Regions from separate parts of the Homo sapiens genome. Here regions 2, 3, 4, 5, 6 and 7 are each linked to region 1. The links are contacts of gene promoters, found by promoter capture Hi-C in blood cells and fetal thymus (Javierre and others, 2016). All regions are on one chromosome and are shown on one strand. Each heading gives the region's core, a stretch centred on a gene start or on the middle of the fragment in contact. The rest is flanking DNA. Distances are from core to core; before and after follow the strand shown. Region 1 holds the start of TMEM218 (transmembrane protein 218). Region 2 overlaps STT3A (STT3 oligosaccharyltransferase complex catalytic subunit A). Region 3 overlaps SIAE (sialic acid acetylesterase). Region 4 holds the start of SIAE (sialic acid acetylesterase). Region 5 has its middle 19 kb from the start of FEZ1. Region 6 holds the start of NRGN (neurogranin). Region 7 overlaps MSANTD2 (Myb/SANT DNA binding domain containing 2).

The links. The method cuts DNA at HindIII sites, captures the fragments that hold promoters and counts their contacts. A CHiCAGO score of 5 or more calls a contact.
Region 2: a contact is called between a fragment that was not itself captured here and the fragment with the promoter of TMEM218 in region 1, in 1 of 17 cell types (neutrophils). The highest score is 5.4, in neutrophils.
Region 3: a fragment that was not itself captured here is called in contact with the fragment with the promoter of TMEM218 in region 1 in 1 of 17 cell types (total CD8 T cells); the score reaches 6.3 in total CD8 T cells.
Region 4: the fragment with the promoter of SIAE here is called in contact with the fragment with the promoter of TMEM218 in region 1 in 10 of 17 cell types (non-activated CD4 T cells, naive CD8 T cells, naive CD4 T cells and 7 more); the score reaches 9.9 in non-activated CD4 T cells.
Region 5: a contact is called between a fragment that was not itself captured here and the fragment with the promoter of TMEM218 in region 1, in 1 of 17 cell types (monocytes). The highest score is 6.1, in monocytes.
Region 6: the fragment with the promoter of NRGN here is called in contact with the fragment with the promoter of TMEM218 in region 1 in 1 of 17 cell types (total CD8 T cells); the score reaches 5.7 in total CD8 T cells.
Region 7: a fragment that was not itself captured here is called in contact with the fragment with the promoter of TMEM218 in region 1 in 3 of 17 cell types (naive CD4 T cells, fetal thymus and total CD8 T cells); the score reaches 6.2 in naive CD4 T cells.

What each region holds. Positions count from the first base shown.
Region 1 is chr11:125,109,692-125,113,517 of GRCh38, reverse strand. TMEM218 (transmembrane protein 218) reads left to right here and starts at 1,892. Exons shown (of 5, transcript NM_001258244.2): 1 at 1,892-1,979. RefSeq lists enhancers at 1,298-1,477, 840-1,752, 2,108-2,197 and a silencer at 1,568-1,637. The HindIII fragment of the contact is 1,270 bases long and covers 1,066-2,335 here.
Region 2 is chr11:125,596,373-125,600,198 of GRCh38, reverse strand. STT3A (STT3 oligosaccharyltransferase complex catalytic subunit A) reads right to left here. Exons shown (of 18, transcript NM_152713.5): 3 at 3,080-3,140. Among named protein-coding and RNA genes, the nearest start is that of STT3A, 5.4 kb to the right of the region's middle. The HindIII fragment of the contact is 4,469 bases long and covers 1-3,826 here.
Region 3 is chr11:124,645,422-124,649,247 of GRCh38, reverse strand. It overlaps SIAE (sialic acid acetylesterase), which reads left to right. Exons shown (of 10, transcript NM_170601.5): 6 at 1,073-1,182; 7 at 1,750-1,883. Among named protein-coding and RNA genes, the nearest start is that of TBRG1, 24 kb to the right of the region's middle. The HindIII fragment of the contact is 2,085 bases long and covers 371-2,455 here.
Region 4 is chr11:124,671,614-124,675,439 of GRCh38, reverse strand. It overlaps SIAE (sialic acid acetylesterase), which reads left to right and starts at 1,701. Exons shown (of 10, transcript NM_170601.5): 1 at 1,701-1,798. The coding sequence starts at 1,732. SPA17 (sperm autoantigenic protein 17) reads right to left here and starts at 1,536. Exons shown (of 5, transcript NM_017425.4): 1 at 1,488-1,536; 2 at 22-202. The coding sequence starts at 175. It overlaps LOC124902780 (a long non-coding RNA gene), which reads right to left and starts at 15. Exons shown (of 2, transcript XR_007062933.1): 1 at 1-15. RefSeq lists an enhancer at 1,426-1,605 and silencers at 1,515-1,673, 1,646-1,765. The HindIII fragment of the contact is 8,074 bases long and covers 19-3,826 here.
Region 5 is chr11:125,512,993-125,516,818 of GRCh38, reverse strand. No RefSeq gene overlaps it. Among named protein-coding and RNA genes, the nearest start is that of FEZ1, 19 kb to the right of the region's middle. The HindIII fragment of the contact is 1,532 bases long and covers 1,279-2,810 here.
Region 6 is chr11:124,737,954-124,741,779 of GRCh38, reverse strand. NRGN (neurogranin) reads right to left here and starts at 1,838. Exons shown (of 4, transcript NM_006176.3): 1 at 1,681-1,838. The coding sequence starts at 1,695. RefSeq lists silencers at 1,700-2,019, 2,080-2,139. The HindIII fragment of the contact is 6,441 bases long and covers 1-3,826 here.
Region 7 is chr11:124,795,246-124,799,071 of GRCh38, reverse strand. All of the region lies in intron 1 of MSANTD2 (Myb/SANT DNA binding domain containing 2), which reads left to right. Among named protein-coding and RNA genes, the nearest start is that of MSANTD2, 3.2 kb to the left of the region's middle. RefSeq lists a silencer at 1-23. The HindIII fragment of the contact is 2,862 bases long and covers 581-3,442 here.

The DNA of each region.
Region 1 (3,826 bases), core at 643-3,142:
CCCATTTTTAATTTATAGCTTAACTGAAGCCAGTATGATCATTAGAAGTGTAAGGAAGTTAACTTTTCCAATCTCAAACTTTGAACTTTTGACCACTTTCCTCCAAAATATTAAGGTCTCAGAGCCAGTTCTGACCAGCTTGTCTACACATTACTTTCCATCATTTGTCTCCATATTATTCTCCAGATACTCAGTGCTCATTCTTGCCTTGGCCTCTTTGCTCAAACTACTTTCTCCTCCTGGATTCTGTTCCACCTTTCCTGTTCCTACTCATATGCTAGGACCCAGCATTAGTTCTAGCTCTATGATAAAGACACACACATTAATTCCAGCCATAACAAAATATCCCCCAAATAATACAAGGGAAGAAGTGCTCTGGAAACTACGAAATGTTCTGCAAATATGAAGTATTATTATATTTTGGAGAAATTAATTGTACAATAGGGTTGGCCCATTGTTATATCTTGCTTTAAAGTGTTTCCTACTTGTTTCATGTGTTGTTGACCTAACATTACAAAACCACGGGCTATTAAGATGGGAGTCACATCTCATTTCTTGTATATCTTCGCAGTTCCTAACAGAACATAGCTGCAGTCAACACTCAGTTCCAGTGAAATGAATTCATCAAAATAAAGGATTTCTTAGCCACAGAGCTTCTCACTGGGCCAAGTAATGTTAAGTTGCTAAACGCACAACAAATCATTGGTTACTTTATGTGATTGTAAATGAAGCCTCGAAAGTTGAATAAATTTGAGACGTGCAGTTGATGAAATTCAAGCATCTTCTTCTTTTTGGTTCATAAAGCTGTGATTCAGGAGAATTCCTTAAATCAGAGATTCAGTGCTCTAAGATTGAATAGGTTGCTTCATGATATTTCTTAAAATTTTGTTTAAGGTCAAAGGTTCAAACGGTGCAGCTCTCCAATTTGGTATTGATTATTGTTTGTTTCCCCTTCTTGATTCAGTGGTGGAGCACGCAGCCTCTGTCCTACTTCCTTTGGTTGTCCTGATTGATGCATCTTTTGGTCTAACAGGCCATAGCCTCAAAGCAAAGTCATGGCAAGCTTTAGTTGGCAGTTAGGTAACAGCAGTCTGCCAATAGCGTGGGCCAGCTCCAGTTCCAGCAGCCTGGCGGCAGAGGGTTTACTTGATGGACCCTGGGCCTCTTCCCCAGTCTGTCCCGTGGGTAGAATGATCTTTGCCTTTGTCTGTTTCGCAAGGCTAATGGAAGAATTAAATACCAAATAAAACAAGTCGAGATAAAGATAAATGAAGCGTGCCGTTATTACAACTGGTGCTTCGTCCTCAGTTCCCTCCAGGAGGGTTGTTGGGGACACTTAATGACCGGGCCTGAGCTGACTTGTCCACCACATCTTGCGCCCCACTCGAGCTAGTGGGTTGGGGATTGAGATGTTCATCAGGCCCCGGAAAAGGCATTGATGTCTAGATGACTGTGCAGTTCTCTGGAGTTCGAGATCTGAGCTGCCTGGCCCTGCTGCTTCGCTGCCTGGATGGGCAATCTCTATGGTGACAGCGAGTGAGGCCGGAAGAAGTCTCTCTCTTCCGCCCAACAACCCGCCCTCAGGCTAGACTGACCAATGGCCCAATGAGTTACGGAGAGATGGTGTGATTGACAGTGGAGTGGCGGGGGGGCGGGGAGTGCAGCTCGGACCGCTGCTACCCAACCGAACTGAGGTCGGTCCAAAGGCTGACAGGCACCGACCAATCGGAGGGCGTAACGAAGGGTGACGAGCCAACCCACCGCGCTCGGCGTTGCCGGGAGCCGCGCTAGGCGTAAGCTAATGAGGAAGAAGTTGGCCGTTGAAAGAGCAACGCTGATTAGTGAATCTTAAATCACCTAAATGAAAGCCCACTTGTGATTCGCCCTAAGTAAACCAGAGCCCCGTGGGCTGGAACGCGCCGGAATCTGAGGTGTGAGTAGAGCCTGGGGGAGAGTGGATCCAGGTGAAGGGGGCAGAGGTGAGGAAAGCGGGGCGGCTGCGGGGAAGGGAGAAAAGTGGAGGGTCGGGCTGAGGTGGTTGGAAGAAGGCGTGGGCGGACGGCGGTGCACGGACCTCGCAGACCACCCTTACCGCTGATCTGGACCCAAGGCCCGGCTAATAAATACTTAATTGGAGGCAGAGAAGGAAGGACTGTTTTGTTTCATGCTCTTAAGAAAAGGAAGTGTCAGTGCCTGATTCAGATCTCTTATGACCGAGACCTTAATCCCTCTCTAGCTCCTGGGAGGTGGCCAGGTGCACATTCTGAAGACGAGACATGGGGGGCATTGTTTTCCTGTCGCCAGTTTGAATCTGCAACAGGGTTGGGGAGAAGCTTAGAGTTCAAGTGGGGTGTTCCCAGGCTGCAGTGCTGTGAGATCCAGAGAGCGGATAGACCGAGGCTCTGCAGCGCTTCCAACCCACAACACCGTCCAGGAGAGGGATGCAAGGAAGAGACCTAGGTTTACTGATCCTCCTTTTTCTATCAACGTGTTAAGAGCAGATGCTACATCGGTGGCATTTTGGGAGCTTGGCAACTGATTTTTTCCCCAGGCTTGCATTTTATCTAATTACAAAGGTAGAGGCGTTATTCTAATATTTTAAAATTCAAAAGATAGTGAAGTGTTTAAAGTAGAAACATAAAAGTGTGAAAGTAACCCCCCCCCCCCGTTATTTTTGAAGGTTTGGAAAACAGCTATAAAGCAAAGTGAAAAGGACTCTTCCAGAGGAGCACTTCACTCCTTGTAACCCACTGTTTTCTGTTGCTTTCAAGGGCTTGAGTCAGTGTGAAAATCGGGGGATGGGTGAGATATCTCCCTCCAGCAGCAGCACTTAGGCCACATTACCCTCTGAGGAATCCACATTTGTCTTAGATAGTAAGTCATCTTATAAGTCATCTTATAATGGCAGTTAGTATTCTCGCTCATGATGATCAACCTGGTGATGAGTACCGTATTTTTAATCCATTAGGTTACCTGTGCAGGGATCAGTCCATTTATTCCTATTTTCTCTGACAGCTGGATGAAAGGGTATGTAGAAACAACCATTAAATGAACACACACATCTAAAAGGTTTTGAACAAACTCTCTCAGAGAAAAACCTCACAGCATTGAGCACAGAAGGAAAACATTAGCCCTGTAGTTGCTTTTGTTGTCAGCTGCTGAACTGTTCAAATTTAAATTATTTTTTTTCACTCCAGTCTACCTGCTTTAAATGCCACAGATATTAAGTAAATGGACTTACCCTTGAAATCGGGTTGGCCAAGCCATCACTTCTCAAAGAAGGTTTAATGATGGCATGAACCCGTTTTTATATTTTATTGTATTGTACTCAATAACAATAATTTAGCTATTCTAATATGGGAAATTATCACAGATATTATTCTCACATTTAAATAAGATAAAAATGACTAGATGTTCTCTCTTCCTCTATAGCAGCACTCTATACTATACCCAGCCCTTCTTTTCTATGCTTAGTAAGAAAATGTATAGTTTGCTTATAAAATTATGAGCTCCATTCTTAAAAGAGCTTGGGAATATTTATCTTATTACTTTAAAGCCATACCATATATAAATCCAATGTCTCACGAACTCTTAAGCTACTAAGGGGGATTGAAGGGCAACATTTCTAATGGCGCCAGCCAGCTTCAACTACCATTTGCCCTCTATTCTAACTGTTAGAGTTGGTCCAAGTCTTCTGGGTTATTTGTGTAATATCCAGAATAGCACAAATTAAATTTAAATAGTTGTTTTCTTAAGAGCAGTACCATCAGCTCAGTCAACTAAGCTAGAAACTTGTGTCATTTCTAACACCTTCTCCCTTGACACA
Region 2 (3,826 bases), core at 745-3,244, 490 kb before region 1:
CATGCCTGTAATCCTAGCTACTTAGGAGGCTGAGGCAGGAGAATCGCTTGAACCCGGGAGGCAGAGGTTGTGGTGAGCTGAGATTGTGCCATTGCACTCCAGCCTGGGCAACAAGAGCAAAACTCCATCTCAAAAAAAATTAATAATAATAACAAATAAAAATAAATAAGAGGCCGGCGTAGTAGTTAATGCCTGTTATCCCAGCACTTTGGGAGGCAGAGGTGGATGGATCGCTTGAGCACAGAAGTTTGAGACCAGCCTGTGTAACATGACAAGACCCAATCTACAAAAAATACAAAAATTAGCCAGGCGTGGTGGCGCGTGCCTGTAATCCCAGCTACTTAGGAGGCTGAGGCAGGAGAATCGCTTGAACCCGGGAGGCAGAGGTTGTGGTGAGCTGAGATTGTGCCATTGCACTCCAGCCTGGGCAACAAGAGCGAAACTCCATCTCAAAAAATAATAATAATAATAATAAATAAAAATAAAGAAGAGGCCGGTGTAGTAGTTCATGCCTGTTATCCCAGCACTTTGGGAGGCAGAGGTGGATGGATCGCTTGAGCACAGAAGTTTGAGACCAGCCTGTGTAACATAACAAGACCCAATCTACAAAAAACACAAAAATTAGCCAGGCATGGTGGCGCGTGCCTGTAATCCCAGCTACTCGGGAGGCTGAGGTGGGAGGATCACTTGAGCCCAGGAAGTTGAGGCTGCATGAGCCATAACTGAGCCACTGAACTTCAGCCTGGGTGACACAGCAAGACCCTGTTTCCAAAAAAAAGGAAGACAGACAAAAATAAACAAAGAGTCTCAAACTAGAGACAGTTTAATTACTATGGATAATCATGACTAACCGTCCTCTCTGCCCACCTCTCTAACCCTATTTCCTCCTTGGTCAGTCAAGTTTTGAAAGCTGAAGTAAACAGAAGCAACAGATGGCAGAAATCTCTATCCTTCTGTTTGTCACTGATGTTATTTTGGTGACTGTCAGAAACAGAAGAGATGAGGGTTGCAGACATCAGTATGTGTCAGAATTGTGTCCTTTAGCTACCAGTAGGAGAGGCAGAGTGAGAGAGGAAGTATAAGTTAGTAGGAATAGGTCTGGACTGCATTCACCACTCTGGGAATCAGTTTCCTCCTCTGCAAAAGGAAGTGTCAAGTCCCTTATGGTCCCTAACAGCTCTTGACGACAAAGCAGATGCTCTTGCATTCCTTGATTATCTAACATCAATATTTGCTCATTCAGAGGGTCTGAGAAAGAAGCCTAACAGATTGGGATCAAGAAACAAAAGTAGGCTGGGCATGGAAGCCCATACCTGTAATGCCAGTACTTTGGGAGGCTGAGGAGGGAGGATTGCTTGAGCCCAGGAGTTTGAGACCAGCCTGGGCAACATAGTGAGACTCCATCTCTACAAAAAATTTTTAAAAAATTAGCTAGGTATGGTGGCACATGCCTGTGGTCCCAGCTACTTGGGAAACTGAGGTGGGGGGATCACTTAGGCCCCACAAGTCAAGGCTGCAGTAAGCCGTGATCACTCCACTGCACTTCAGCTTGGGTGACAGTCAGACCCAATCTCAAACAAAAAAAGAAAAAACAAAAGGACATGTCTCCTCATTCATGAGAAAAAATATAAACTGAATTTGGGAGGCCCCAAACAGAATTATTTGTAATGCCTCCAAAATGCTTTCAAATATCTACACAAAACAAAATTATAAATTTGCAAATAGATGCAGGCATTTTCAATCAATACTCCACAAGATTGAATATACTATTTTTAAGATACCAATAATATTTCAAGAACCTATGATTTTGGCCCTCCAAATTTGTTATAAGCCTTAACTTTAGGCAATATAACACAGTGACTACAGTCTCTGGAGTCAGACAAACCAACATTCAAATCACGGTTCCTCCACGTACTGAATAATCAACCTTAGATAACCACTCCCAGCCTGAGTCTCCTCATTTCTTTTTTCTTTTTCTTTTTTTTTTGAGATGGAGCCTTGCTCTGTAGCCCAGGCAGGAGTGCAGTGGCATGATCTTGGCTCACTGCAACCTCCACCTCCTGCGTTCAAGCGATTCTCCTGCCTCAGTCTCTAGAGTAGCTGGGATTACGGGCACATGCCACCATGCCCAGCTAATTTTTGTATTTTTAGTAGAGATGGGGTTTTACTATGTTGGCCAGGCTGGTCTCGAACTCCTGACCTTGTGATCTGCCCGCCTTGGCCTCCCCCAGTGCTGGGATTACAGGCGTGAGCCACCGTGCCCAGTGGAGTCTCCTCATTTCTAAGAAGGGAATAATAGTACCTACATCTCAAAGGGTTGCTGAAAGGATTTAGAGATAATCTGTAAATTAGTGCTTGGAACAAAATGAATGCTTAGTAAATACTAGTTATTAATACCACTAAGGAATTCCACTATATCTTTTTCATCTAATGAACAAAATTCCTTATCAAACTGATAACTTTGAGTTTTTTCATTGCCCTAGAATTTAACTAAGAAGCCCAATTTCTATCACATAAATTGCTAAACAAACAAACAAACAGCAAAATGTCATGAATCTCAAGTCCATTGTTTGTGATTCTCTTCTGAGCCTGGAATACACACCAGGACCCTTTCCTTCAATCTGCATCACAAACTTTTACCAAACTGGGCAGCCAGAATTCTCTTAGCCTAGCCAGATCTTAAGTGATAGGCAGACATACTAGCAATGCCTCTCACATTTTTTGAGTTTCAGAGACTTACTTGGTCAATTCCAACACATACTTTTTTTTTTTTTTTTGTAGAGATGGGGTTTCACCATGTTGCCCAGGCTGGTCTTGAACTCCTGAGCTCAAGTGATCCCTCCACCTCAGCCTCCCAAAGTGCTGGGATTACAGGTGTGAGCCACTGTGCTGGACTCCAACACATACGTCTTAAAAGGAGATAATTATCTCCTTTGGAAGAATTTAAGGGTTTTTTTTTCCCTTAAATGTACTGAAAGCACATCTCTATCACTGAGAGCTGACTGAAATTTGAATCTGAAACCCATGAACCTGAATGCCTCCCAAAGGAAATAATACCAGATCAAGCAAAGGTACTCACGGATCAAACTCATGGATAACACTTTCAAATCTCAGGACAGCAAACAGACGAGTGGAGAAGGCTGCAAAAACCAGAGAGTTAATATTTTATTGGTAATGTGCCATGAAAGAACAGCAGATATAGTATTATAATGAAGACAGTATTATCCAGTAGAGAGGTCACAGAAAATATAAAATAATCCCTGAATAAAGTCTTTATCCATCTTTCCCCACATAAAGGAAACAAGAGAAGTTTACTTTCCCCTGACAATGGCATCTACATTTTCCACTTTCATAGGTCACAGTTAACTAATTATAAAAGCCTATAACATTACATTCACCTACTAATACCAAACTCAACTTACATGGTCATCTTTTATATACGCTGACTCCCCCACCATACACACATAACTAACCTTAACCTTGGAGCAAAGTAATAGGTATGGCAAGCAAAATTACACCTAGGACTCATGAAGAGCCAGAAAATCTAAAATACAGAGTAAACTCTCAAGAGACTTTCAAAAATACTATAGGAGACATCTAAATTGAAGATAATTGTCTTTTACAAAAATCAGTTATCCAAGGGTCCCCAATATCACTTTCAACCCTATGAGAAAACAGAATTGGCACAGCATGCTTCCCATTCTTTCAAAGATGATCACAGCCCTCTTTTTTTTGAGACAGAGTCTTGCTCTGTTGCCCAGGCTAGAGTGCAGTGGTGCAATCTCGGCTTACTGCAACCTCTGCCTCCCAGGTTCGAGCGATTCTC
Region 3 (3,826 bases), core at 164-2,663, 460 kb after region 1:
TTCAGAGAGACTTAGTAACTTGCTCATGAGCATGACTAGTAAGTGGCAAGTCTGGCTTCAGTGTCTGTGCACCTAACCATTGTGCTGTATTGCCTAGAAGAATAAACAATCCAACAGGAAGAACAAATGTTATAAACATGTACTCAAAGAAATGTATCAGTATACTGATTATGAACACCTGCTTAGGAAAGGCTGGATCAGGAAGAATACTTGGGGAGGGAAAGGGCTAGTGAATACAAATCCCGATACTAACATCAATGTAGAGATGAGCAGTATGTGACTTGCTTTCATGGACCATGTCTCATTCACGCTGGGAAGCCCTGTGGGAGGAGGATGGGCTTGAGCTCTGGGTATAGTTTGGGTAAAAGCTTGCCTGTGGGGGAGTGAAGATATTCAACTTTGGAACAGGAAGAATGGCCTGCAGTAGAGTAGGAGTGAGCGTTAGACCAGATCTCTGGGGGTGGAAGGGATAATCCCGAGGGTGTGGGCAAGTGGGCTTCTCACACGCAGCAGCTACAGGATAAATTCATATAAATATTCTACAGAGAAATTTGAGAACGTGTTCAGAGCCTTAAAAAAGATGCCCTTTGACACAGCAGTTTCATTTCTGGGAATTTATCTTATGGATATAGTTAAGCATGTATGCAATGACTTAGCTATAAGGAAGATGATCTTGGCATTCCATATAAAAGCAAAAAGTTTAAAACAACCTAAATGTCTGTGCATTAAATAAAGGTTTATTTAATAAAAGTTAGGTAAATTTATTGGCCCCCCCCCACAATGTGAGAAACTCAACAATAAAGCACTCCTTCCCTGTGGCTTTAATTACCTTAGAAATTACCTTTAATTACCATAGAAAGCTGACCGATACACTTATTTTGGGAATAACCTGGAGGTGAAATTCAGAGAATATTCATATGTTTTCAAGAAAAAGAGTTTCGATTCAATTTTAATTCTGTGTTGCTTTCATCAGAAGTTTACCACAAGTGAAAGTGGATAGATGACCAATTAGGGACCCTTATGTGATCAATCACTGGCTCTCTGGTGACACTTGTGCATCATATGATTTCAGGTCCATTCCATACGATTCTGTAACTGGTCCCAGTAAGCACTCTGTTCTCTGGAATGCCATGATCCATCCACTGTGCAATATGACTCTGAAAGGGGTAGTATGGTACCAGGGTAAGTGTTCAGTGTACTCTTTCTCCATTGTATCAGATAGCGTTTGCTGTATAACACAGCACCCTAGAACGTAGTGGCTTAAAGCAACAATAACTTTATAATTTTATTCAGCTCACTGTTCTGTGGGTGAGCAGGGTAGTTTTTATGTCTGGGCTGCTTCAGCTAATTCCTGCTGGGACCTCTTATGTGTCTTTGGCCACCTGGCAGATTGTCTGGTGGCTGGATGACCTAGGATGGTCTCTCCCTAGATGTATTGTCTGGGGGCTGTTGCAACATGGTTCTGAGGTGACCTCTTATCCTTCAGCAAGCCAGTATAGACTCATTTATTATTTATATAATAGTCTCAGGATTCCAGGGTCATCAGGAGAGGACAGAGCCCAAACCTGAAGTACTTTTCAAGCCTCTGTTCGTACCACATTTGCTGATGCCCCACTGGCTGGAAAAAGACCAGTCCAGAGAGACCGTGGGAAGACCACTACCTCAGGGCATGGATGGAGGGAGGAGAGTAATGTGTGGTCATTTTTGCAGTCTACTCCAAACTCCCTTTACAATTTGGACTGTTTTTAGGGGAGTCCAATATAAATTATAACACGGATCTGTACAATTGCACATTCCCTGCACTCATCGAAGACTGGCGTGAAACCTTCCACCGTGGTTCCCAGGGGCAGACGGAGCGTTTCTTCCCATTTGGACTTGTCCAGGTACGATGTGGGTAAAGGCTTCTCTGTTCATGTCAACACCTGTTCCTGTGTTGAGAGGAAGAGGTTTATGGGCATTGGTGTGGGGATGTGCTATTTGGATCTCTTTCCTGGATTTCATCTTCCTTTTTTGTCCTCATAATGTGCTGGTCAAGAACTGAATGTAAGGCTTACTTCATCTCAGTTCACTGATAGGACAATTAAATCTTCAAAAAAAGTTGATAAGTAACTAATATTTCTTATTTAAAAAGCATTACAGTTTCATTGAGGAAATATTAAAAAGATAAGCAAAAAAGAAGCTAAAAAAGTTGATAATTTTCCAATCCAAAAATAAGCAGCTGTCTTCTGCTCATTTATTTTTGAAATAGATCTGTACTATATCTTGCATTTTTCTCTAAAAGTAATATTTCAATTAGAGATAAGTAGTAAACGATTTTTCATGTCAATAAATATTAATCTTCAATGCAGTTTGTAATGATTGTAGAGCCTGAAATATGGTTACATTGTAGTTTATTTAACTAGCTGTCTATAGATTGGGCATTTCGGTTGTTTTAAACGTTTTGCTTTAATAAGCTTTGGCATGTTTATTTTCCTTGTTGCTAAATCACTGCATATATGCTTGATTATTTCCCTAAGGTAAATTCCCAGAAATGAAATTTCTGGTTCAAAAGGTACACCTTTGTAAGGCTTTGAACATGTCCCCAGATTTCTCTGAAGAAATTCATGAATTTGTATAAATTTATGCTCTTAACAACTGTCTGTGAGAATGTCCATTTCCCCACCCCCTCCCCAACTTGGTGTTATCCCTTCCACTCCCTGGAATCCACCGTGCTCTCTCACTCCCTGGCCATTGCACTTGCTCCTTGCCTTCCATACTTTCCTAGTTAACTTTAATCATCCTTTAGGTCCCAGACAGCCTACATATTAGTTAGGAAGCCTTCTGTGACTATCCAGATTAGTTAGATGCCCCCTTTCTCTCTACTTCCCCTTTTTATTTGCATGAGGTTGCCTACATGACTACATTTTCCTGGGTCACACTTAACATCCCTAGTACGTATGTAGTTGATTGGCACTCGTTAAATAGTGGCTTAACATGTGAATGAAAAAAGATAGCAAGAGAAACCATACATTTAATTAGAGATAACTAGTCAGAAAGATTCTGCTTTCAGCCTTGCATAAAAAGAATAAACATATTTGACCAAGTTCATAATTGCCTAGCCTCCACATGTTCATATGAACTACACTTTTTAGCACGGTGGTAGTGCTGGTTTTTCTAGAACATAAGAAATCAAACAAGTAAGGTGATATAAAAACAATGCCCATCTTAAAACATGACAACAGAGTAGGCTTTCCTGTGTAAATGGGACATCCATGGTCCCAGACACCACCTCCGCACGCCCCACAGATGACTTCTCACCATCCTCCCCACTCCCCTACCTTGTCCTTTTCACTGTACCTTCTTTTGAATATTTGTATAGACCTTCTCACTTAAAATGCCTTTATGATTATTTTCTTTCTTCTTTCCTGCATTTGTTCTGACTTTGAAATAAGATTATTCTGCTCATTATTTTCAAAGTAGCAGCTCCTGTCACCAGTTCTGCATCCCTGTTGGTGGAAACTACACTTGGGCTTTGGAAGTACTTTTTTCTCCCTTGGCCTGTGCACATGGTGATTTGAGTATGACTTTAGCCAACTCAAACCAAAAGTATGTGTTGAATGCTTATTATATGCTGTGAATCTTGTGAGGTGCTAGAAATATAGCAATCAGGCCGGGCTTGGTGGCTCACGCTTGTAATCCCAGCACTCTGGGAGGCCGAGGTGGGCGGATCACCTGAGGTCGGGAGTTCGAGACCAGCCTGACCAACATGGAGAAGCCCCGTCTCTACTAAAAATACAAAATTAGTCGGGTGTGGTGGCGCATCCCTGTAATCCCAGCTACTCTGGAG
Region 4 (3,826 bases), core at 452-2,951, 440 kb after region 1:
GACTAATTTTAGAAAGCTTACTCTCTCTTTTCTCTAGAAGGCTCTCAAAATAGGCTGCTGCAAAAGCTGGTATATTGTCCGGTTGCTCTCTCAGAATCTCGCGTGTCAGCCCTTCAAGAAGATTCCCAAATCCTTGTGGAATTCGGTAGTGGGTGTTGGAGAATGGAATCGACATCTTCTTGGTAAGAACTGCCTATGGAACCTAAAGATTCATTAAAGAGTACTGTCTTTAAATTTGTCTGATTTTACTTATATAATCACAACTATGCCAACAAATTATTTCTGAGACTCATACATCTGGACTTGAATTCTTTTTTCCCTAACACAACCCAAGCCCATCCATTTCTTCCAAAGAGTTTTGAAATCTCCATTGTGAATTAGTATAATACAAACACAGACCCATTCACTAGGCCAAATCATTTAAAATCCTGCAAAAAACCCATAATTTTCAATATGACTTTTTCTCTCTTTACCCTTTATATGCTCAAAAGGTAAGGGTAATTTTTGCTATCACACAGGAATTTAGAGAGAATGATTGCTAAAAAGTTAAATTCATTGTCAATTGCTGAGAAGACCTTCTTTGAGGTCTATTTTTTTTTAAAGAGTAGAAATTAGTCCTGGTTCTAGAAATTAATTTGTTGAATGAAGAAGTTGCACAATCTTTCCCCTTGCTGCCACTTCTGAAGCATGACCCACAATGCTTCGAACACCTTCGTACTGTGGAATGGGGTTGTGCGTGCGTGTGTGTGAGGGAGGGATGGGATGGGATGGGGCTGTGTGTCATGATTTTGAAATCCCAGCCTCTAAAGTTTTAGAATTCTTATATTTTTCGGTTTCTTCTTGATCAGGTTGTCTCTTTCTGTCTTGAAATACAAGGGCTAGATTAAGGGTAGCTGCTAAGCAGCGGGCTGAGCTACTACTGAGTATGAAAAGAATCCTCCGGGACCTGGCCTGTTAATGTGAGAGTGTGCGTCAATGCGGAATAGAGGCGGAGGCCGTGGTAGGGGTCCAGGTTGGGAGAACTGGACGGTTTAATGAGGCTCAGACTATGGAGGGTTCTCGTTTCATCGCTTTTTTTTTCTTTGAGAGGGGGTCTCTGGCCTCGAACTCCTGGGCTCCAGCGATGATCCCGCCTCAGCCTCCCGAGCAATTGGGATTACAGGCGCGCGCCACCACGCCTGACTCCTCTCTTTTGCTTTTTCTGAGGGAGCAGTAGATGGGGGTATCGAACCATTCTAGAGTGGTGAAAAGAGCTGGCGAGATTCTGAACCAATGTGGGCAGAGGAGGGCGGGCGGAGGGGGCAGACGGGTCTAGTCGGGGGCGGGATGTTGAGGACCTGGGATTTCAGACTCGCGCAGAATGGGCTGCCTCGGCTCCCAAACGGCCCAGGGCTCCGAGGCTGTGTCTGGGATGCTGAGAGAATAAGAGAGACGAAGGGAAAAGGCTAGGTCTTGGTATCGGAGAGGAAGTGGGGAAGCGGCCTCACCTCCTTTCTCTCCGAGCTGGTGCCGCCGGTTCCGGTTGTTTTTCTAGTTGCTGGGTAACCGTTTTTTCTTTAAAAAAAAAAAAAAACTACGGCGGCCGAGAAGGGGCGAGTACAGCCCAGTCCTGAGGTCGCGGGAGGCTGCGAGGACTGCAAAAGGGTGGAGTCGGCCTCGCCCCCGCCCAGGCCCCGCCCCTGCCGGGAACCCACTTTCCCAGTCCTAGGCGGCGGTCAGATCCTTGCAAGCATGGTCGCGCCGGGGCTTGTACTCGGGCTGGTGCTGCCATTAATCCTGTGGGCCGACAGAAGTGCAGGTGAGGCGGCCCGGCTCGGCCGGACCCCTGCCCCTCAGCCTGTGCGGGCTCCGAGACCCCGTGTCCTCTGCGGGACACGGATCCGCGCCCCTTTCTCAAGGTCGACGAAGGAACCTAGCTAGGCTAGGGGCTCGCGTCTCCGACCGAGGCCCGGTCTGCAGGAGTCTGCTGGGTTGAACCCCGGCCTCTCCACTTTCTCCACCCCCCACTTACCATCCCTGACATGCAGCCTGTGAGCAGGGAGAAAGTGCGGCTTGTCTGAGTGGGGAGGCCCAAATGTGCCCAGAAAGAGGCCTTCGGGGTCCTGGAGTAACTGCAGGGGAGCTCGGAGGGAAGGAGGCGAAGCTAGTTAGGTAATATTTGGAAACAGGTGACTGAATCTTCCAAAACATTTCAGCGCTACCCCCTCAGTGGTGCCCTTGGGGAGGGTTTGCTTCAGGCGGGGTTCCTTAGGGGAATTAAATTTTACTCGTTTAAGTGGTTATCAGGGCTAAGAAATACAACCCCCTCACTAGCTCTGACTATTTAAGGCTCAGTTTTGATTTCTGGTACCGCTTACAGATATTGGTGGTGGGAAAATGTGAGTGGCATAGGGGAGGCTGGTGGCTCCCTTTGGCTGTTGCGCAGGTCAGATCTTGCCATTCGAATACCCTAGGCTGGACACTGGGTCACAGTATGGAGAAAGCAGAAGGTGCAATCTGTCTGATAATGCAAACTAAAGTGATAATGTTGGATTTCTTCCTTTCTGTTTCAAAACACTCAAAGAGTGGACCCCAGAGATCCCTGTTAAGAAATGATAGTTGGGGTAGGAGAACAGCGTGCAGAAAAATGACTCCTGCTCTACCTGAGAGCCGGAAAAGTACCTAGATTCAGACAAACTGCAGCCCATAAATGATTGTTCAGAGTCTAACAAAAGTGCAAAATGCTAGCACTCTGTATGCCATTTCCTGACTCTTATCTCCACTCAGTGACCTTTGAGATCCATCTTATGAGGTGGGGAAAAGATATTTTATTAGGTTTTCAGTTAAAGGCTGTTTATTTTAGTGTCAGTATTTTATCTCCTCCTTTGGGTCTTATTGTTACATCACCTTCATTAACATTGATCACATTTTTCATTCATTAGTACTCTACTTGGTTGCGTATCCTGACGTTTTTCCTTTAAGTCATTCTCCCTGTGCCCATGTTTACCATGTAATGCTTGAGATGTACAAAATTATATGTAACAATGACACAATAAAATGAACACCCATGAGAGCAGTACCCAACTTAAGAACTAGAACATTGCCAGTCTATTGAGCCTGCCATTGTGCTCCTCGCCAATGCATCCGGAGCTCCTCACCAGAGGCAACCACTGCCCTCTCTTCCCCATAACACTAATTCCTGTTTTTCTACTCCAGCCCCAAATGAAGGAAAAAACTGAAGACCTAAAAAATCCAAATGTTGGCTCACACCTTTAATCCCAGCACTTTGGGAGGCTGAGGTGGGCGGATCACTTAGAGTCAGGAGTTCAAGACCAGCCTGGCCAACATGGCGAAACCCCGTCTCTACTAAAAATACAAAAAAATTGGCCAGGCGCGGTGGCTCATGCTTGTAATCCCAGCACTTTGGGAGGCCAAGGTGGGCAGATCATGAGGTCAGGAGTTCGAGACCAGCCTGGCCAACGTAGTGAAACCCCGTCTCTACTAAAGATATCAAAAAAAAAAAAAAAAAGAATTAGCCAGGTGTGGTGGCACATGCCTGTAATCTCAGCTACTCGGGAGGCTGAGGCAGGAGAACCGCTTGAACCCCAGAGGCGGAGGTTGCAGTGAGCTGAGATCGCACCACTGCACTCCAGCCTGGGTGACAGAGCAAGACTCTGTCTCAAAAAAACAAACAAACAAGAAATCAAATGGTAAATGTATGTGTCTTGTGTTTGGCACAAGGAATGACCAGCCTTGCTCTCTTTCTCATTCTCTCTCTCTTTTTTTTTGTCCATTGCACAATTCCTTGATGTTCCACTGTCTACTCTAATGAACTTAGAATTTAAAC
Region 5 (3,826 bases), core at 795-3,294, 400 kb before region 1:
GGAATATAGTAAAAGCAGAAACAAACAAATGAAGGGACCAAGAAACCCTCAGAAAGATAAAAAGTTTATTTTAAACTGAAACCATTTGAGCTACAGCAGATGCAGATAGAAATCATATCTGGACTTCCCTGATCTGACTAAAGCAGAGCCTCCCAAAATACGACTGCCATTAACCCCCCTTCAGGTTTGGGAGAATCCCCAGATTTGGTCTAATTCAGCTTCCAGCCAGAAAGAAGACTGTACATTAGCATCAGAATAAAAAAGCCCAATAGAATCTTCCATACATTCCCAATGAAGCCTTAACCACCATTCCCTTTTGTTAAACTGATGCAGTCACACGTACCCCTGGCTATTTTTGCCAGGGATTACCCTTTACTGAGTACTCCCCCATGCATGTGTAAATAATCCTTGTCTTTTCTTCTGTGGATCTGTCTATCATCAATTAATTTGCAGTCCCCCAAGCCCCAAACACACACTACAACATAGTTGGTGGAAGAAAAGACTTCCTTCCAACACAGACAAAAACCCATTAGGGAAAAATAACTATTGCAGAAGAAGGAGTGAGCAGCAGCGTGGTTAGCAGAGCCCTGCCAGTACTTGTTTTAGACTCAGCTAAAATCCTTCTCAGCATTTTTTTTTTTTTGCACTGGAGTCTCGCTCTGTCACCCAGGCTGGAGTGCAGTGGTGCAGTCTCGGCTCACTGCATCCTCTGCCTCCCAGGTTCAAGTGATTCTCCTGCCTCAGCCTCCGAGTAGCTGGGATTACAGGCGCCCGCTGCCACACCCAGCTAATTTTTGTATTTTTAGTAGAGACAGGGTTTCACCATGGTGGCCAGGCTGGTCTCGAACTCCTGACCTCAGATAATCTGCTCGCCTCGGCCTCCCAAAGTGCTGGGATTACAGGCGTGAGCCACAGCGCCTGGCTCATTCTTGTTTTTTTTGATGAACATAGTGGGAACGTGGCTATCCTGAACTTTGGAGTCAGATGGCTCTCTGGGTTAGAACTCCTGCCTTACCCCTTCTTAGCTGTGTGAGCCTTGAACAAATTATCCCATCCCTGAGAGCCTGTTTTCTCATTTTCCTAAACAAAGGGTAATCATACATACTTTATAAGGTCATTGTGCAAATAAAATGAGATGAAAAGTTTAACAAACAGTATTGTTAGGTAAAGCTCCTTACATAGTAAGCACATAAATGGCTGCTCTTGTTACGCTGCTTGCTTTTTAGAAATGAATCTGTTTGGGTAGTAGTGTAGCATCACCTGAGACCTGACTAAGCTTTTGTTTGCTTATTTGTTTAAGATTCATTGACTTTTTAAAAAATCACACTTTTACTGAGATATAATCACATACCATAAAATTTACCTTTTCATTTATTATTTAGAGACAGGGTCTTGTTCTGCTGTGCAGGCTAGAGTGCAGTGGTGTGATCACAACTCACTGCAGCCTCTACCCCTTAGGGTCAAGTGATCCTCCTGCCTTCTTAGTCTCCCAAGTAGCTGGGGCCACAGGTGTGTGCCACCCTACCCAGCTAATTAAAAAAAAACTTGTTTGTAGAGATGGGGTCTTGCTATGTTGGCCAGTCTGGTCTTGAACTCCAGGATTTAAGCAATCTTCCTGCTTTGGCATTCCAAAGTGCTGGGATTATAAGCATGAGCCACAGCATCCAGCCACACTTTTTTTTTTTTTTTTTTTGAGATGGAGTTTTGCTCTTGTTGCCCAGGCTGGAGTGCAATGGCGCAATCTTGGCTCACTGCAACCTCCGCCTCCCAGGTTCAAGTGATTCTCCTGTCTCATCCTCCCAAATAGCTGGGATTACAGGCATGTGCCACCCCATTTGGCTAATTTTGTATTTTTAGTAGAGACAGAGTTTCTCCGTGTTGGTCAGGCTGGTCTTGAACTCCCGACCTCAGGTGATCCGCCTGCCTCGGCCTCCCAAAGTGCTGAGATTACAGGCGTGAGCCACCACGCCCAACCAGCCACCCTTTTAAACTACACAATTCAGTGGCTTTTAGTATAGTCACAGAGTTGTGCAACAATCACATAACTACTTCCTTTTACTATCTACCACAATTTAATTTTAGTGCATTTTCATCATCCCACCCCCCGCCACACACACACCCTGCCAAACTAAAGAAACCACACATCCGTTAGCAGTCACTCTCCACAGCCCCTGGCAACCACCAATCTACTTTATGTTTCTATTGTGAAAAGAAATTACATTTTGGGACCCCAGAGTCATTTAGCCAAAGGGAAAAGTCAAAAATCAGATATGCATTTGTGTCTGGCAGGCCTGTACCTGTAAAGATAACCTATCAATTTGCATGCCACAGTGATGTTTTAGCAGCTCACCAGGAATTTCCTTGTGGGCAAAATATGGGGAAATTCCCAGTGAGCTGTTAAAACGTCACTATGGCAATGCAAATTGTTAGGTCATCTTTACAGGTGCAGGCCTGCCAGACACAAATGAATATCTGATTTTTCCCCTACTCCATTTTGTCTGTGTTATCTTATGTAAAATGCAGATTCCCCACATTTTTCCTTTGCCCCTTTTGCTTATGTGAAAACTGTGTGCTTCTCAATATCCCACCCTTTCCCCCTTAAATTTGGAGCCTCAAAATCATCTTCAGAGAAAGGCATAGACCTGTCTCCAGGATGCGTCCTTAACTTTGGCAAATAAATCTAAAATGATTGAGACTTGTCTCATCATTTTCTTCAATTGACACTATGTAGACATTTCATGTACATGAAATTACGTACCATGTGCCTTTCTGTGTCTGCTGTCTTTCACTCAACATAATGCTTTCAAGCTTATCTGTGTTGTAGCATTGTATCAGTATTTTGTTCTTTTTATGGCTGAATGACATTTCATTGCATGGATATACCACAATTTGTTTATCCATTTATCCCTTGATGGACATTTGGGTTTGTAGGAGTGAAAGGAACTCTCCTTCCACCCTTTAAAGGCTCGATAATCTCTGGAATAAACTTGACAGTAGACAGATTAACAGGAGAAAAGGCATACAAATTTATTACATGCATATGTATAGGAGTTCCACAAAATATGAGACACAAAGGAGGGCCAGATGGTTGAAGCTTAAATAGCATTGTGAGCTACAGAAAAAATTAGCTTGGCACAGTGGCTCACACCTGTAATCCTAGCACTTTGGGAAGCTGAGGTGGGAGGATGGCTTGAGCCCAGTAGTTCCAGATCAGCCTGGCCAATGTGGCAAAACCCTATCTCTACCAAAAATGCAAAACTTAGCTGGGTGTGGTGGCATGCCCCTGTAGTTCCAGCTACTCAGGTGGCTGAGGTAGGAGGATCACTTGAACCAGGGAGATCAAGGCTGCAGTGAGTACAGTGAGCTGTAATTGCACCCACTGCACCCCAACCTAGACAACAGAGTGAGACCCTGTCTCAAAAAAAAAAAAAAAAAAAAAAAGAATTAGAAGCTTAAAGACTCCTGGAGGGTGGTGGCAACAAGCTGTGGGAGAGTGAGGGGAGGAAGAGCACTGCAAGCAAAGGTTGTCTTATTATGCAGAAGAAGTCTCTCAGGTAGCTCTCAGAAGCATAAGTGAAAAGTCTGTCTGGGCATGATGTCCTAGATGTGGAGACATTTAGTCTCCTCTCTTAGAGATCATATAGATTCCAGGGAGTGAGTTCATGACACTTCATTTCTTCTGGAGGGATTTCTCTTAGTCAGATAAAGGAAATGTCAGAGAAAGTGCTTCCCTATGCTTTGGGAGAAAAAGAGAATCAAGACATAGTAAGCAGGGAAAGGTCAGAGAGACCTTGGTTCTGAGGCCCTTTCCTTTAAAAAATTTTGT
Region 6 (3,826 bases), core at 589-3,088, 370 kb after region 1:
GGATTCTTTGTTTACTCACCTCTTTCCAGTGACCACGTCTCCCACTTCCCCTTCCCCAGCAATACTCCCCTGTCATCCTCACCTCTCCCCTCCCCCCAGCTCATTTCCCAGAACCCACCATCCATTTATCTTCTCTACTTTATACAACACTGCTGGGAGGAAGGGCTCTTCCTCAGTGGAGCCCAGGAACCTCCATGAGGAGCCCATTTCTCCCTTCACAACCAAAAAATTGCTTCCTGTAGAATAACAAGCAGAGGGAAAAGGCTGGAAGGAGATATGTTATCGGGGTGTTCTCCAGGGGGTGGGACTGTAGGTGACTGACATGTTTGTTTTTCATACTTTTCTCTAGGTTTTACGTTTTCTATTATGAGCAGATTACTTTTATAATCAGTAAATATTTAGAGGAGAGGTTAAACCACAGCTCTTCGAAGAAGACAGGGCTATGTTTGAATCCTGCCTCCACAGTTAGGAGTCATGCTTCCTTGGAAAAATCTAACTTTCTAAACCTCAGTTGGCACATCTGTGAAATAATACCTACTTCACAGGGTTGTTGCTATGATTAAATATAAAGTGCTGGCTACAGGGCAGGCATTCACAAACTGGCAACTATTACTTAAACTAATAAGAGTTAAAATCGCAACCACCACCACTTGCCCCTAAGTGTTCTCTGCCTCTTGGTACCCAGACATGGGAAAGTCTCACCTATTATAGAACTGGGCTATCCTTCCCTTCCAAAGCCCACTTTTTTTTTCTTTACTATGCCATAAGGTGGCAAAGTCAGTAACCTCGTGTATCATTAGCTGGTTGACTGAATGACTGAAAATACAAGGACTTTGGAATAGTCTTTCTCCAAGTGCAGAGGCAAAAAATAAATAAGCAAACAAATAAATTTCATATACGTATGATCACTGTACTCTTCCAGTGAGGCAGGAGCCAGGGCCTATGCCAGGCGCTTTCATACCGAGTCACCTTTACAGCAAACCCCTCGGGCGCTGGGCACTTGCAGTACCCAGGTTTCCGCGTGGGCGCTGACAAATTGCAGACACTTCCTTTCCTCGCCAGCAGGGCTCTCTCGCGGTCACTTCACCCAGCCCCTTCCGAGCGAGAAGGCCTTGGGGGCCGGGACAACCCCTCCCCAGAACCACCCTGACTAGGCTCTTTGCAGCCAGCATCACTACCGAGCTAACCAATATGGACCAGCCTGCGCTGCACAGGGCGCTTAGGCGATCGTTGGAGGGTCATGAGGATCAGCCTGTCCGCCCACCGACGGCGGCGCAGTGGGATGGGGAACGGGGTGGGGGCCGAAAGACGGGAGGAAGGAGTCGCTGCAGTGTCTCCAGGCGATGGTTGCCAGCGTCTCACTGGGGAGGAAGTTCCTCCTGTCATCCAACCCGCAGTTCCCCTCTTGCAGAGCCCTGCCGAGCTCCCAGTCCAGCCTAGGCTGTCTAACGGATGGGCGCTCAGACGCCCCCGCGAGTTGAGGAGCATTTTTCCTAGGGCTTCCAAGTCGGGCGGGCGCCTTCCACCATCCACCACCCACGTCTCGGCAAGGACCCCTTTTCTTTCTGCTCCTAGGTCTTCCGCATCCACTTCCATCCCTCTCTCGCCCTCCAGGGCTTTCTCAGGCGCCTCTCGCAGCGGACCCCGCCAAGTGCCCCTCCCCCGGGCCCTCTAACTTACGGTGCAGCAGTCCATGCTGGTGTCGGGGGGTCCTCTGCGGGGACGAAGGCTGGCGCAGGGCGGGGGTGGGGTCTGTGTGGTGCCGGGTGGGGGCTCTGGGGCAGTCGGCCGCCAGCCGACCCGCGCCGAAACAGCAGCTCTGCTCTCGGGTCCGGTCTCCCGCGCTCGGCTCCGCTCGCGAATGTAACCTGAGCCCCGCGGCCGGGAAGCCAATCAGGAGCAGCCTCCGGCAGGGTGGGCGGGGAGAAGTGGAGGGAGGGCCACGCCCTCTCGCGGCTCTCTGCGCCGCGCTCCCGCTCCTGCCCCAGCCCCTCCGCCTACACGCTTGTATCCAAGCCTCCTACACACTCCATCCTCCCGGGCGCAATCCCCTGGCTTGCTAGGCGGCAGACTGCCAGGCAGATGTACGCCGGAGTAGGCAGAAGGAGGCCCCCGACACCCCGAGCACAAACACCCACATCTGGGCACAGCACCTACTCCCGCTCAGAGAAAACCACGCACCCCTCACCCATCCCTCCATACTTCCACAACCTAGCAGGAGTCCCAAATATGGCTCCCTTTCACTTCACTCCCCCTCAGTCCGCAAAGAAAGGCTCCCTAACGGGCGGTAAAAAGGTCTCATCATCACTCCTGCTACAGACGGAGAAACCTGTTGGTACAACCTGGCGATGGGCATGCGTCCACACAAAAGCTCACAAGCCCCACATGTCCACATATGATTTTCCCAGGCCTTCTTCCAGCATACAGACACTGCAGATACAACCTGCAAAAATAACTACGCAGCCCTTCAGTTGCAGGTAAATGCGGACACCCTGTTGCGGGCGCCCGCGCGCTCACGCACGCACACGGACAGTCACCCAACTCAAGCTGTCGGCATGACGTATCTATTATCGATCTGTCTACATGAGCTGCAACAAACAACATCATATATGCACAACACCTATTTTGTATGTATTTATATATGGGCACAGACTTGGAAGAAGTATCCTCCTCCCTTTCATACCAGACTCTGCCTAACCTTTTGATCTGCTGCCTCAGAATAAGACAAAAGCTGGCCATCCTCGCCCTTGCTCCTGAGAAGAAGAAAAATACCCTAAACCCAAGTGTAGAGAATTCGAAGTAATTGGCTCTTGGGTCCATGATGAGGCAGGATGTGGGCTTCGTGAGAGGCTGGGAAGGGGAGCTATGGAAAGAGCATCTGGGAGGGACAGACTGCCACTGTTGTGGTCGTCAGCCTCCCCCAACTCGGCAGGGTACAAAAGCTGGCAGTGTGGCTTGTTATGTGGGTAGGGTAGGCCTTCTCTGAGAAAACTAGAAAGTCTTCTCAGCTAAGGTCCCAGAGAAGGGAAGGAGGAAAGGATGGCTCCTGCTGGGAGCAAAGGTGGGAAATGCCCTGTGGCTCTGGTTGGGACAGCAGATCCTGAGACAGCTCTGCTGTGCATCCCCAGTCCCTGGCCATGACCAGGGACCACGTGGCGGTGACATGCTTCCTTTCCACCTAGATGTTTGGGCCCGAGGCTCTGCTTGCCAAAGGAAAAATGAGTGGGAGAGAAATGCCTGAGTCCATTCAGGGTGGGGATAAGGTTAGCCAGCTTGGGGTCCCAGGCTGAGCTGGATGCTGGCCGGGATTCCAGGGCTTGGGGTGTAGGGGTGTCTCTCCCAGCATGTTTGGGACCCACCCACTTTTGTAAAAAAAAATCTGTTCCCCAATCTGTCTCTGGCACATCTTTCATCTCCCCACCTCCTCCAAGTGGCCAGATGTCCTGGGAACTCAGGCCCTTGCCTAAATGACACGCACATCTGTGGCCTTCTGTTGTGCCAATTCCTGCTGGACTTCAACTCCAGAATCCAGAGAGGAGAGGAAAGGGGGAAATTGGGGGACAGAGTGGATACCAGGCCTAGACTCTGTGCTTTTCTCTTCCCAAATTAGAGCTGAGGAATTCGGGATTTGGTGAGTTTGCAGTCAAGTCTCCCAAGTTGCTAGGCAACATCCCTCTGCAGACTGCGCTGCCTCTGGGCCCTTCTTCCTGCTGGTCAGAACTGAAGGGGGGGTATCTTTACAACACCCCCCCCACCAACTCCCACACAGGCAGCACAGCCCTTCCCTCTTCCTGAAGGACACCTTTGTGTGGGGTGAGGGTGTCTC
Region 7 (3,826 bases), core at 762-3,261, 310 kb after region 1:
TGGCCGTCCTTGTGTACCTGCATGTTTAAATGCAGAGGCTTAATTTGGGCTAGAAATCTTAGCCAGGTTAAGATTTTGCTACTAGAACTGACTCTAGGCTTTCATATTTGTATTATTGGCAGATAAGGAGTTGTATTTTAGTTAAGCTCATTTCCTCATCGTAGTGGCTGCTAAAAAGATTGTGATAGGATTCTCCCAGTTTTTACTGAACTACTTATCCTATTATCTGTGCACTTCTTTTCTGATACAGCTGGCACTTTTTCTGGGAACTTCTTGAGGGGGGATAAAAACCACCAAGAACAATTATAAAATAAGAATGATCACACTAAAGAGCAATAATAAAGTCTAATAGGCGCAATCATGAGTTAGAGTAAGCTAAAGGAGGGAAATTGCACCAAAGTTCTCCAGGTCTTGGCTCCAGTAGTATTTCTTTGGGGATGTTGTTGCTTAGAAAACTGGGTCCACAAACTAAGATATTTAAAACCTACTATTGTTCAAGGAATTTGCCACCCATTAATTACTCCATTACAAATTTAAATTAGTGTATTTGATAACATTTATCTTTGGGACTTCTTAAGCTTTCTCTTTTTTTAACAAAGACATTAAAGTAGTAGCTAATAGGACAAAGCTACTCTTCTCTGAATCTCATTTGTTCTATTCAACGTCATTAAGGTTAAATTTTAATTTTTATTTATTTATATTTAGAGAGAGGATCTCCCTCTCTTGCCCAACCTGAAGAACTCCTGGGCTCAAACAATCCTCCCCAGTAGCTAGGACTGCAGGCATGCCCCACCACACCTGGCTCATTAAATTTTTTTTTTTTTTTTTTTTTTTTTTAAGAGACAGGGTCTTCTACGTTGCTCAGGCTGGTTTTAGCTCCCTGGTCTCAAGCTGTCCTGCCTCAGTCTCCCAAAGCACTAGGATTACAGGCGTGAGCCACCGTGCCCAGCCAAGGTTAAATTTTTGGGAGACTTTTTGTACTGTCTTGGCTAGCGTCTATCCATGACCTCTTCTTGAGTTTAGAAGTGCATTTTAGGCATTTTAAACTGTTTCAGCTTGATTGATTTCTGTCTGTAGAAACTTCCCAATCACGCAGAAAAAGTGTGTTGTCAAAACCTCACTGAATATAAATCTCTCCATAAAATTGTTTCTCAACCAGGGAGTATCTAATTGGGTTGTTTCATTGTCCAGTTATGAGAAGGATAACTTAAAGCAAGAAAAGGAGATTTATTTGAATAATTTTTAGAAGAGGATTGGTTTACCTGTGTCCAGACAGGTAAAACCAAGTTGACCTCAAGCTCTTAGGGTATTTTGGGAATGTGCTGATGAGTATGGGTTCTCTGATCCATAGTAGCTGTTAACAAGGAGGGCAGATAACTGTTTTGTGTTTTAAAGTGCTCTACTCTTTATGTGATTTCAATCAAAGAACCCAGACTTTTTCATTAGTAATGTTGAGTGTTCCTGCCAGAATGATAAGCTCTCTAAGGACAGGTTCTGGTCTCTCTTACTCACTGCTGTACTAGCATATAGTAGACACTACATTTTTTTTAATTTGTTTTATGTTTATTTTTAATGGAGGCAGGGTTTTGCTCTGTTGCCTAAGCTGGAGTGCAGTAACGTGATCATAGCTCACTGCAGCCTTGAACTCCTGGACCTAAGTGATGCTCCCACCTCAGCTTCCTGAGTAGCTAGGACTACAGGCATTTACTACCACGCCCAGCTAATTTTTAAATTTTGTATTTTTGTTTTTTTAGAAGCAGGGTCTCACTGTGTTGCCTAGACTGGTCTCAAACTCCTAGAATCAAGCGATCCGCCTGCCTTGGCCTCCCAAAGTGCTGGGATTATAGGCGAGAGCCACCACATCCGGCCTTATTTAATTAATTCACCAAATAAAGTCTAGAAAGAGAATATTGGAAAATATAAAAATCTGCAGCAGTATTATTCAATAATACTGCTGTTTAACGAAAAAACAGACTTTGGAACCCAGTCTGAAGAATACTGCATTTAAGGAGATTTAGTGTGAATGTAATCTTCAGCACAGAAGCAAATGTGGTCACTGAAATCATATTCCTACACAATTATGAAGTGGATGTTCAAGTAACTCAGATTATGCTTATGAAAATAAAACTGCTATCTTAAAATCTCAGAGAATCTCAAACCTCTGAAAAGAAGTCATTAGATCCCAGTTTCAGAAATGCAGATTTAAAACAAGTAGTTCAAAAATCTCTTTCACTTTGTGTTGATGAGAACTACAAAAAGAAACTTAGTAATACTTTTTGCTTTAGATTTTACAAAATAGAAGCAAAGTAGTAAGATGTGGAAAAGGAAAAGGAGGAACTTCTTACGCAGACTAAAGTACATGTGAACTCAATGTCAGAGGCTCACAGAGAAGGAATATGTGTGAGTCAATTACATTTCTGGGCTAATATATTTGAAATTCCTGTCAAAAATTCAATTATGAGCCGGGTACAGTAGCGCTTCCCTGTTGTCCCAGCTACTTTAGAGGGTGAGGTGGGAGGATCGCTTGAGCTCATGAATTTGAGGCTGCAGTGTGCCATGATCATAGCACCTGTAAATAGCCACTGTACTCCAGCTTGGGCAACATAGTGAGACCTGGTCTCTTAAAAAAAAAGAATTCAACTATGAAAACCCAGTAAATAATTTCTTCTAACTTTAAAAGGAAGAGCTATATAGCAACTTTAATTTTTCCATGCAAACCTTCCTTTAGTCAGATAATTTCTGATTAGCAGCCTTCCTCACATTGTATAAAGGATCAGAAAGCTGAGCCTTATTGCACCCTTTTCTGACCACCTTCCTGAATCACCTTAAAGCATGTCACTTACCTTCTTTGGACTGTGCCTTGGTCCTCTTATCTATACAGTAAAAATACTAAAATTATAAGTATTGAAATTGAATTAATAATTTAACTCTTGGATTTTGAGACTAACATCCTACTTTTTAATACTGTCTAAATGAACATGTTTCTAAGCACACAAGATTTTAATTTACAGTCAGATATGAAAATTTGTTTATTGCTGCAAAGTTTGATTTTGATGTCTGTCATCTTATTGGTATTTGTTCTGTCGTTTGGGTAAAACGGATGTGTTTGACACTGCCTTACTACATAGATTGTTTATCTTGAAGTTTTGTTGCATTTTTGTTTGTTTGCCAGAAGAAAATTTGTCTACTAACAATTCCAGCCCAATTTTGGAGTCAGATACACAAATCTAGGTAGTTTTTTATCTAGTGATTGCATGATTTTTCTCTTTTACTGTAGGCCTTTTCATATCTCCAGTCACCAAATACTTAAGTGCTTACTATGTGGAGGGCTGTCTGCTAGGTGTTAGGATGAATAAAAGAACTGTAGTTTTAAAAATAAAAATAAAAATAAAAGTATAATATACACTCCTGTAGTCCAAGAGCATAAAATCCAATTGAAGCTTGTGTACATACATCAATGAGTTAAAAAGCTGGTCAAGACAACACAAGGGATGGAATGCAAGGCGGTACTTGATTTAGTGTTATTTGCCTAAAGCAGACTATAAGTGTGATGACTTCAAAGGAGTGACCAGTCTCATCGCTGGCCATACTGTAGTAGTTGAAAGACCTATCTAGACTTGGAATTCATGAAAGCATTCACTCTGAGCCAGATGCTGCATTCACACTTCAGTCAGTTAATCTGATGCACTGCAAAACTCATTCTCAAGTCCCATATTTTTGGGTGTTCTCCAAAAATTTGCCTCTTGAGAGTTGGCTTTATGTCTTTGAAACAGATGTGTACTTCTAGCTGTGCCTCAAGATGAAATGCAAGGTGATTGAATGTGAC